Linked DNA regions of Homo sapiens: all the other regions are linked to region 1. Evidence: promoter capture Hi-C in 16 types of primary human blood cells and fetal thymus (Javierre and others, 2016). All regions are on one chromosome and are shown on one strand. The core of a region is centred on a gene start or on the middle of the fragment in contact, and the rest is flanking DNA. Distances in the headings are between cores, read along the strand shown. Region 1 holds the start of MCTP1 (multiple C2 and transmembrane domain containing 1). Region 2 overlaps SKIC3 (SKI3 subunit of superkiller complex). Region 3 overlaps ARSK (arylsulfatase family member K).

Region 1 (2,700 bases), core at 166-2,665:
TTCATCTTTGCTAAACCAGAGCGAGATGTTTTCTTTCGACTGTTTCATCTACTTAGAATTAATAGCATTTCTCCTCCCGCCTCCCGGCCCCCGCCCCCCGCTCCCCGGGTGGTGAACGCCTGAAGAGGGAGGCGTGGTCCCGCGCACCTTGTCTCCGGCCGCGCCACCGGCACTCACCTGGCTGCTGCCGTGCTCCTCGCCCGTCTCCGGGGCCCGAGACTCCGCGGGACTCCGCGCCGGCTCTGCGGGAGGAGGCGGCGGCTCCAGCAGCTGCTCCAGGCAGGCGGTGCCCGGCAGAGAGGAGCTCTTCTGGTGGCACAAGTGCGCCCCGGGGCCCTGACGCCGTGCACCCTCATCTCGGGCGCGGTCCCCCCTCGGGGGAGGCTGGGGCGAGGAGGACAGGGAGGATGAGGCGGAGGAAGAGGAAGGAGCTGAGTCGGGGGAGCGTCCGCCAGGAGGCGTCCCTCCCGCTGCTCCCGAGGCCGCCGCGGGCCCCTTTACGGCGGGGAGCAAATGCTCGCGGATCCGGCGGCGTAGCGTGGACCCCTGCTCGGCTCTGCCGGCGCCGCCGGGCTCCAGGGGCTCCGGCGACGAGCAGCACAGGTTGGGCTGCGAGGAGGAGAAGACTCGGTCCAGCACTTGCTTCCGCTTCTTGAAGCCGCTCCACCTGCTGCCTGCACCACTCCCCCTGGCCGGTGCATTCCCTGTGCCCACCGGGGGTGGCGGGGAGGGCGACGGGGTGTCCGCAGTGCGGCGCTCTGGACCCCCAGCGCGCCCGCCCCCGCCGCCCTTGCTCCTGCCCACCCCCAGCTGCAGGTTCTTCCAGAGCCGGGCCTGGAAGGAGGAGGACGCCGCCGGCGGCTCTGGCTCGCCCGCCGCGGCAGCCCGGGGCTCCATCCTCCACCCCCTGCTCCTCCTCTCCCCTCCTCCTCCTCCTCCTCCTCCTGCTTCTCCTCCCTCTTCGGCTGCACCTCCTCCCGGGTCCCCGCGGCGCTGGCGGTGGCGGCGGCGGCGGCGGCGGGCGCAGCAGCAGAAACCGGGAGTGCCCAGCGACTTCAGGCCAGCTCGGGGGAAAGAAGCGGCCGCCGCCGCCGAGGCTCTCTGGCCTCGGGACTCCGGCGCTGCCTCTTCCTCCCGCACCTGCTGGGGTGGGCTGGAGCCGTAACCGAATCCCGGCCGCGGCGCCTGCAAAGTTTTTCCCTCGAAGCTCCGCGGCTCCAGTCCACTGGCGTCCCCCAGGCCGCGCCCTGGCTCCCTCTTCTCTCTGACCGAGCTCGGGAAGCTGCACGCACCGGGGCGTGCGCGTCCAGCTGCGCCAGGGACCGCACCCGGCGCCCTCTGGGCAGCACCTGTCAGCGGCGGGGGCGGCTGCCTCCAAATTGGGCGCGCACGCGGCTCACACAACAAGGCGCGTCTGGCTGGAGACTCCGGGGACCAGCAGTCCCCCTGGGGCGCCCCGGGACCATCCTCCAGCTCCTAGGTGGGAGGGCCGGTAGGAGCCGGGTGGAGCTAGGTAGGGCCCGAAGCCAGCTTGCTCCCTAGGATCCGGCCACAGTTGCCCAGGCAGCTCGCTGTGCGCTGGCCGCTGGCCGCGCTGGCGATCGTCTGGGTCGGATGAAGCGAGCTGGAGTGGAAACTATGTGCCCTCGATGGGTCTCGTGGGGGCGCCGATCGTCCACACTGAGCGATGAACCCGACGGAGTTCTAAAGCTGAAGACGTCTGCCCCCGCCCCGTTGCGCTCCCTGGGTCCAAGACGAGAGTTTAATTTCTTCTGTCTTGACTTCATCCCCATCCACCCCTCCCTTTTCTTTATTTGCCTCTGCACTGGTCTCTTATGATCAGGTTCTAGCATTTCCGGAGTCTGACGATAAAGCCAGCCCTTAAGTTGCAGGGAGTTTACGGTGGACGAAGATGGGTGATGCGCACTGCCTTTGATCCGATTCGGCACGCACAGAATCTTGTTCTTTTCATTCAAGCGCATTTTTTCTTTGGTTACTTCATTTGCTTGTTGCAAGGCAAACGGAAAAGGCTTTTTAGCTCATTCAGACTTTGCTTCTCCCAAAGCTGCTCAGCCAGGGTCTTCTGATTCTGCTAGGAGAGACTTCTGAAAGGCCAGCAACACAATGCCTCTTTCGTCCTCCTAAATGGGGAAAACGGGAGAGTTCCCTAAGCTGCGGTAGCACACTGATCAGTCTTGTCTAGCTAGCAGTATGCTTTGGAGGTGTTACCAACCTAAGTTTTTTGTTTTGTTTTGTTTTTGTTACCTTTATAACAAATATTTATTAAGCACCTACTATATACCAGGCACTGTGATAGGCTCTGGGGATGCAGCTGTGAACAGGGCATCAGGGTCCCACCCACATGGAGCTTATTGTGAGGGTGAGGGTTGGGAGGTGATGCGAGACAATAAACAGAATTTCTAATATGCAAAAGTCCCATGGAAACAGTTAAGCAGGGTACCACATAACAGAGTGGCTACAGAGGAAGAGCTTCCAGACAAAATGCAGGACACCCAATTAAACTGACTTTCAGAGAAACAATGAATAATATTAGTATATGTATGTCCCAAATATTGCATGGGACATACTTATACTAAAATACTATTATTTATCTGAAATTTAAATTTAACTGGGTGTCATGTTTTTGTTTGCTAAATCTGGCAGCCCCATATGGAGAGGTTTTTGGTTTTTTACATTATG
Region 2 (2,939 bases), core at 283-2,782, 260 kb after region 1:
GAAATAACAGCTACTTGCTAAAGGTAAAATAAAACAGCTTGAAGCAGTTAGCAAGTATGTTCTAGGGAAAGAAAAACAAAACCAGTAGCCAAAATGAAATTAGCCTCTTAAGGTTTTACATTATTCCAGAGAAAATAAGAACATTTCCATGAGTTAAGCGAGTCATATTATTAGACTTGAGTGTTTCCACACAACACTCCTAATAATCTGTCCCTAATATGCAGTACAAGCTCCATTCTATCTGTGAACACACTGATTACACAAATTGGGTCATTCTTGTCACCTAAGTCAGAGTAAAGGGAGCACCAGGGGGAAAAGGCACTCAGGCCTCATAGCACCTGCTCCAAGATTTAAATTTTCCAAAAGCCCGGCTGCTGAGAGGGCCTGCTGTAACCCTAAGACCAGTTTTCCCCAGTAGCTGCCATGACTCTAAGTCTAGTTTTACCTACCATCGTCACTCACCAATCAGAGCCTGCCAGCTCCCAAAAGCTTCTCTAGTACCAGTGAGCTTTCTTTCAAAATAATACATAACATTTTTCTTTCCAATAAAATGGCCAATCTTCTCTTTGTTCTTCAGACATACAAAAGACCACTTAGCCTGTGTGTGTATGCCCCAAATTGCAATTCTTGTTTCCCAAAATAAAATTATTTATTTTGACTTCAACATAATAATGCTGCCTCCTAACAAACCACAACAATGATGTAACTACCAAAGTTAAGCTCTAAACACTGGGGCCTTATTAATGCTTATGTTCCCAACACCAGGTACAATGGCTGGCACTTAACAGCTGAACAAAATGCCATACTCAACCAGCAATTAGTTAAGTACTGACTATCTGCCTGATGACCAGGTTTTCAGAATCCAAAATGGATGTTTAAGAAAATGATTATCAACAATGTGGTGAAGGCAGGTATGAGATTCTGAAAGAACATAGAGAAAAAAGTACCGAACTCTGCATAAACTGGAGAAGGCTTCCCTGAAGGGATACTCATACCATGTGATAAAGCGCCACAGGCAGACAAGGTGATGATCAGACAAAACCACAGCAAATGCAACATTCCTTTACTCAAAAATTCATTTAGTCTCAACCAATATTCTGGGTTACTACACATTAGTAATCAGGCATTTATAACTGATTAGCTATCCATTTGCATTTTCTAATTGGGTCTCTCTAGTATAAATTATTAACTATTTGGTGGAATTAATATCTGAATTTTGCAGAAAGTCTACAGGAAGAAGACAGCTATGGTGGTGCTGTATATAACTGAAACGTGCATCAATTAGATAAACCTAGTGCTGAAGGAAACAGTCCTTCTTCCCTTCTTGTATTCCATCCACAACCTGTCCCCACTTGGAACACACTGCCCACCTTCTTCTATATCAAGATTAATACTATCACGTCCTTGCATCCCTGCTGGGCTCCATCAGTCACCACCAGAAACCTAAACCTCACAAGGGTATCCTTTACCTGTTTACTCCTTAGACTCATCCTCATATTGCCATGTATACTGCCCAGTCTTGCCCAATTCCCTCCCTACCACTCTCCTAAATTCTTCATTGTGCCCTCTGGAACTCCCAATCTGGGTCAGCCAAGTTCCTTCCATATTTTTAACCTTTCTTTTAACCACACCAAGTTCTGCCTCAATGAAAACATGGCTAATTCCCCTATACATCCTACAGATTGCAGATGACTTCTTTTACAGCTCACATGCCACAGGCCTAGAAGGTGAGAAACTGCTTCTTGCTCACACTGTCTGTCACCTACAGTCCTCTACTGCTCCTTCCTCCTTCAGCAACCCCACTACCTTTGAAGCTCAGGCCATCCAACTATACTACTAAAAATAGCCTTCTTGTTGCTACAGTCTACCACCTTCCTAATTCCCCTTTCCTTCAGTGAAAATTCTGTATCCTTCTTTTCCACCTCAGTGCCTGTATTCATGTTGATATCCCGTTGAACACTCTGGCCTCTCAGTTATGTGACCACCACACTACTCACCCATCCAAAATCTGAATTTCCAGCACAGTACTATTCTGCTCCTCTCTAACCGTCCCAGTTCAATTACTGTAGTGGTCCCATGGTAACAAATCTTTAACCTTTGGTTTCTCTAATTTTTTCTATCCTAAACGCTTTTTCCATTGCCTATCAGCCCACCTCTCATTTCTCATTCCTCTTTACCCAGCTTAGACTCCAGGGCTCACCACTGTCATCACTCCCTTGTCATGTCTTTCCTTTGCATGTCTTTCCTTTCTTCTTTCTCTCCATCCATACTTGAACCCCATCATGCCCATCTCCAAACCTGAGAAACTGAATACAAAGAGAAAAACTACAGCGGAGTTCACTAATTTCACTTTAATAGCTTGAAACTTCAAATGGGCAATCACTAGGGCCTGCTAATCTTTCCAATCCTTACTAGCAAGTTTCTTTTCCCACCATGAGAAAAAAAAAAAACAAAAAAAAAAACAAAGAAAGAAACTATTTCATACCTTCTGCTATCTCAAACCTCCTAACCAATAACCAAGTCTTCTCCCAGTCTCATCTTATACTTTGCCAAGAAAATAGAAGCCATTAGAGAAGAAAGCTTTTCCCAACACCAAATCTATAAGCCCAACACTGTATGGATGGGCACCTATCTTCTCTCCTGCTAAGATGGAAGAAGGATTAAAGGGCTCCCTCAAGCTCTGGATCCCAGTGTGTCTCTCACCTACTGATGACTTCACTCCTACCACTACCCTCTGTCTCTCCCCCGAGTCCAATTTCTCCCTCTGAATGGAATCATACCCATCAGCATAAAAATAAGCTTTATAATCTTGGTCCTCTCATCCACAAACCAAATAGAAATAGAACACTAACATGCCATTAAACAATGAAAACTTTAAGATACAGTAGCATTCCACGATACAACCATCAAAAGATATTTATGGGATATTCAGGTTTTAA
Region 3 (2,700 bases), core at 168-2,667, 280 kb after region 1:
TACACCAATCAATGTAGTATGTTATTGGCTTAAGGATAGGTGACATACAGATCAATGGAATAGGATCTAAAGTCCAGAAATAAACTCTCATATTTATAGTAAATTGATTTTTTAACAAGGGTGCCAAGACCATTTAATAGGGAAAGAATGATCTTTTAAACAAATGGTGCTGGAAAAAAAAAATATGAATGAAGTTGGACCCTGCCTTGCACCATACACAAACACACAAAAAAAAACTTTAAGTAAATTGATTGATTAATCAAATGTAAAACTAAAAAACTCTTACAAGAAAACATAGGTGTAAGTCTTTGTGATTGTGGATTAGGCAATTAAAAGATGGGCAAAAGATCTTTTTTTTTTTTTTTTTTTTGAAATGGAGTCTCGCTCTGTCACCCAGGCCGGAGTGCAGTGGCGCAATCTCGGCTTACTGCAACTTCTGCCTCCCAGGTTCAAGCCATTCTCCTGCCTCAGTCTCCTGAGTAGCTGGGACTACAGGTGCCCGCCACCACACCCAGATAATTTTTTAATTTTTATTTTTAGTAGAGATGGGGTTTCACCGTATTAGCCAGGATGGTCTCGATCTCCTGACCTTGGGATATACCCGCCTAGGCCTCCCAAAGTGCTGGGATTACCGGCATGAACCACCATGCCCGGCCAAAAGATCTTAATAGACATTTCTTCATAGAAGATACGCAGATGACAAATAAATACATGAAAAGATGCTCAACATCATTAATCATTCGGGAAATGTAAATCAAAACCACAGTGAGACACCAGTTATACCCACTGGGATGGTTATAATGAAAAAGACAATAACTAGAGATGGCAACAATGTGGAGGAATTGCAACCCATACCCTGCTGGTAGGATCACGCAGCCATTGGAAATCAGTTTGGCAGTTTCTCGAATGGTTAACCATAGAGTTGCTGTATAATCCAGCAGTTTTACTCCTAGGTGTATATTCAAGGGAAATGAAAATATAAGTCTACACAAAAACTTCTACATGAATGTTCATAGCATTATAATGTTCATTATACATAATGGCCAAACAGTATAAACAACCCAAATGCCCATCAATTGATAAATGGATAAATAAAATTTGGTAATATTATTCAACAATAAAAAATATGGTATATGCTACAATATAGATGAAACTTAAAAAGATTATGCTAAATGAAAGAAGCTAGTCAAAAAGGACCACATATTGTATGATTCCATTCATATGAAATGTCCAGAAAAAGCAAACATAGAGCCGGAAAGTAGGTTAGTGGTTGCCTAGGCTTCAGGAAAATAGAGAGTAATGGCTAAAGAGTGCAGAATGTCTTTTGGGGATGATGAGAACATTCTAAAATCGACTATGGTAATGGTTGCACAGCTTTCTGAATACACTAAAAACCATTGAATTGTACACTTTAAATGGATGAGTTGTTTAGTGTGTTAATTATATCTTAATAAACCCATTTTTAAAAGAACAGAAAACAGGCTAGGCACGGTGGTTCACACCTGTAATACCAGCACTTTGGGAAGCCACGGCGAGCAGATCACCTGAGGTCAGAAGTTCGAGACCAGCCTGGCCAACATGGTGAAACCCCATCTCTACTAAGAATACAAAAATTAGCCAGGCATGGTGGTGGGCACCTGCCCAGCTACTCGGGAGGCTGAGTCAGGAGAATCGCTTAAACCTAGAATACAGAGGTTGCAGTGAACCGAGATTGTGCCACTGGACTCCAGCCTTGGTGACAGGGTGAGTCTCTGTCTCAAAAAAAATAAATAAAAATTTAAAATTAAATAAATAATAGAAAAGAAGCATCTCTGCCTGGGTCTTAAAGGACAGAGGCATCTTCTGCATCCCCACTCCTACTCCTACCTCTACTCCCTGCCACTGCACCTGTATCAGTTTTAGTTTTGCTGAGGTTTCAGGAGTGGCAGGGGAGAGTAGGTACAGGAGTGTTTACTAGAGAGTCTAGTGAGAATCTCATTCAGTCTGATGGACAGATCTGGGAAGAACACTATAAGCAGTCTTGCCATGCTGACATGGCAAATTAAAGTTGCTGTTACATTCTTTTATTAGGATGATTAATTCAAACCTAAACTTCTCTGATTCTGCATGGCCCATAATGATAAGGAACCGAGTACAAGCCATGGTTCAGAAGGAGCAATCAAAATCACAAAATTGTATCTACAAAAAGACTTACCCACCCCAAGGGGGAAAAATGTGTGGACCCATGAGAATTAATTAACAAGAGCAGAATGCAGCAACTAAAGGCAGTTGGTACCATTTCTGTAACTTTTGCAGAAAGCCAATTAATGGGTCATTTTTATTTCTTAAATGCCCAATTTTAGAGTGCTTAATTTGTTTGAACCATAGGAATGGCCTTGAGAAAATTGAAATGGGCTATTAGTAAGTTATAGAAGTTATAACAAAAGCCATTTTTCAAGATTTTCTCTGCCAACTAAATTTGACAGAACTGTGTTTTCACTTATAACTGGCTATCCATTGTAAACCACATTAACATACTATGGAAAACTTACTTTCTCTCTTTTTCATCAGCCAGCTGTGTTAAGATGCCTTTCAGTTCAGAATGAAATATTCTACTGACCGTCTCCCATTGATACCATTATCAGCAGTACTAGTAGTAGCCTAGTTTTTAAATGATTTGTTAGTGTGTAAAAACTACATGAAGTCAAAAACCAAAACTTC

Evidence for each region. Contacts are between HindIII fragments. The CHiCAGO score rates a contact against its expected background, and 5 or more counts as called.
Region 2: a fragment that was not itself captured here is called in contact with the fragment with the promoter of MCTP1 in region 1 in 1 of 17 cell types (megakaryocytes); the score reaches 8.5 in megakaryocytes.
Region 3: a contact is called between a fragment that was not itself captured here and the fragment with the promoter of MCTP1 in region 1, in 1 of 17 cell types (megakaryocytes). The highest score is 6.2, in megakaryocytes.

The regions. Positions count from the first base shown.
Region 1 is chr5:95,283,679-95,286,378 of GRCh38, forward strand. It overlaps MCTP1 (multiple C2 and transmembrane domain containing 1), which reads right to left and starts at 1,416. Exons shown (of 23, transcript NM_024717.7): 1 at 178-1,416. The coding sequence starts at 897. RefSeq lists silencers at 505-624, 705-764. The HindIII fragment of the contact is 7,244 bases long and covers 1-2,700 here.
Region 2 is chr5:95,543,902-95,546,840 of GRCh38, forward strand. All of the region lies in intron 4 of SKIC3 (SKI3 subunit of superkiller complex), which reads right to left. Among named protein-coding and RNA genes, the nearest start is that of SKIC3, 9.6 kb to the right of the region's middle. The HindIII fragment of the contact is 2,091 bases long and covers 488-2,578 here.
Region 3 is chr5:95,560,453-95,563,152 of GRCh38, forward strand. The region is part of intron 1 of ARSK (arylsulfatase family member K); the gene reads left to right. Among named protein-coding and RNA genes, the nearest start is that of ARSK, 6.7 kb to the left of the region's middle. The HindIII fragment of the contact is 2,864 bases long and covers 1-2,700 here.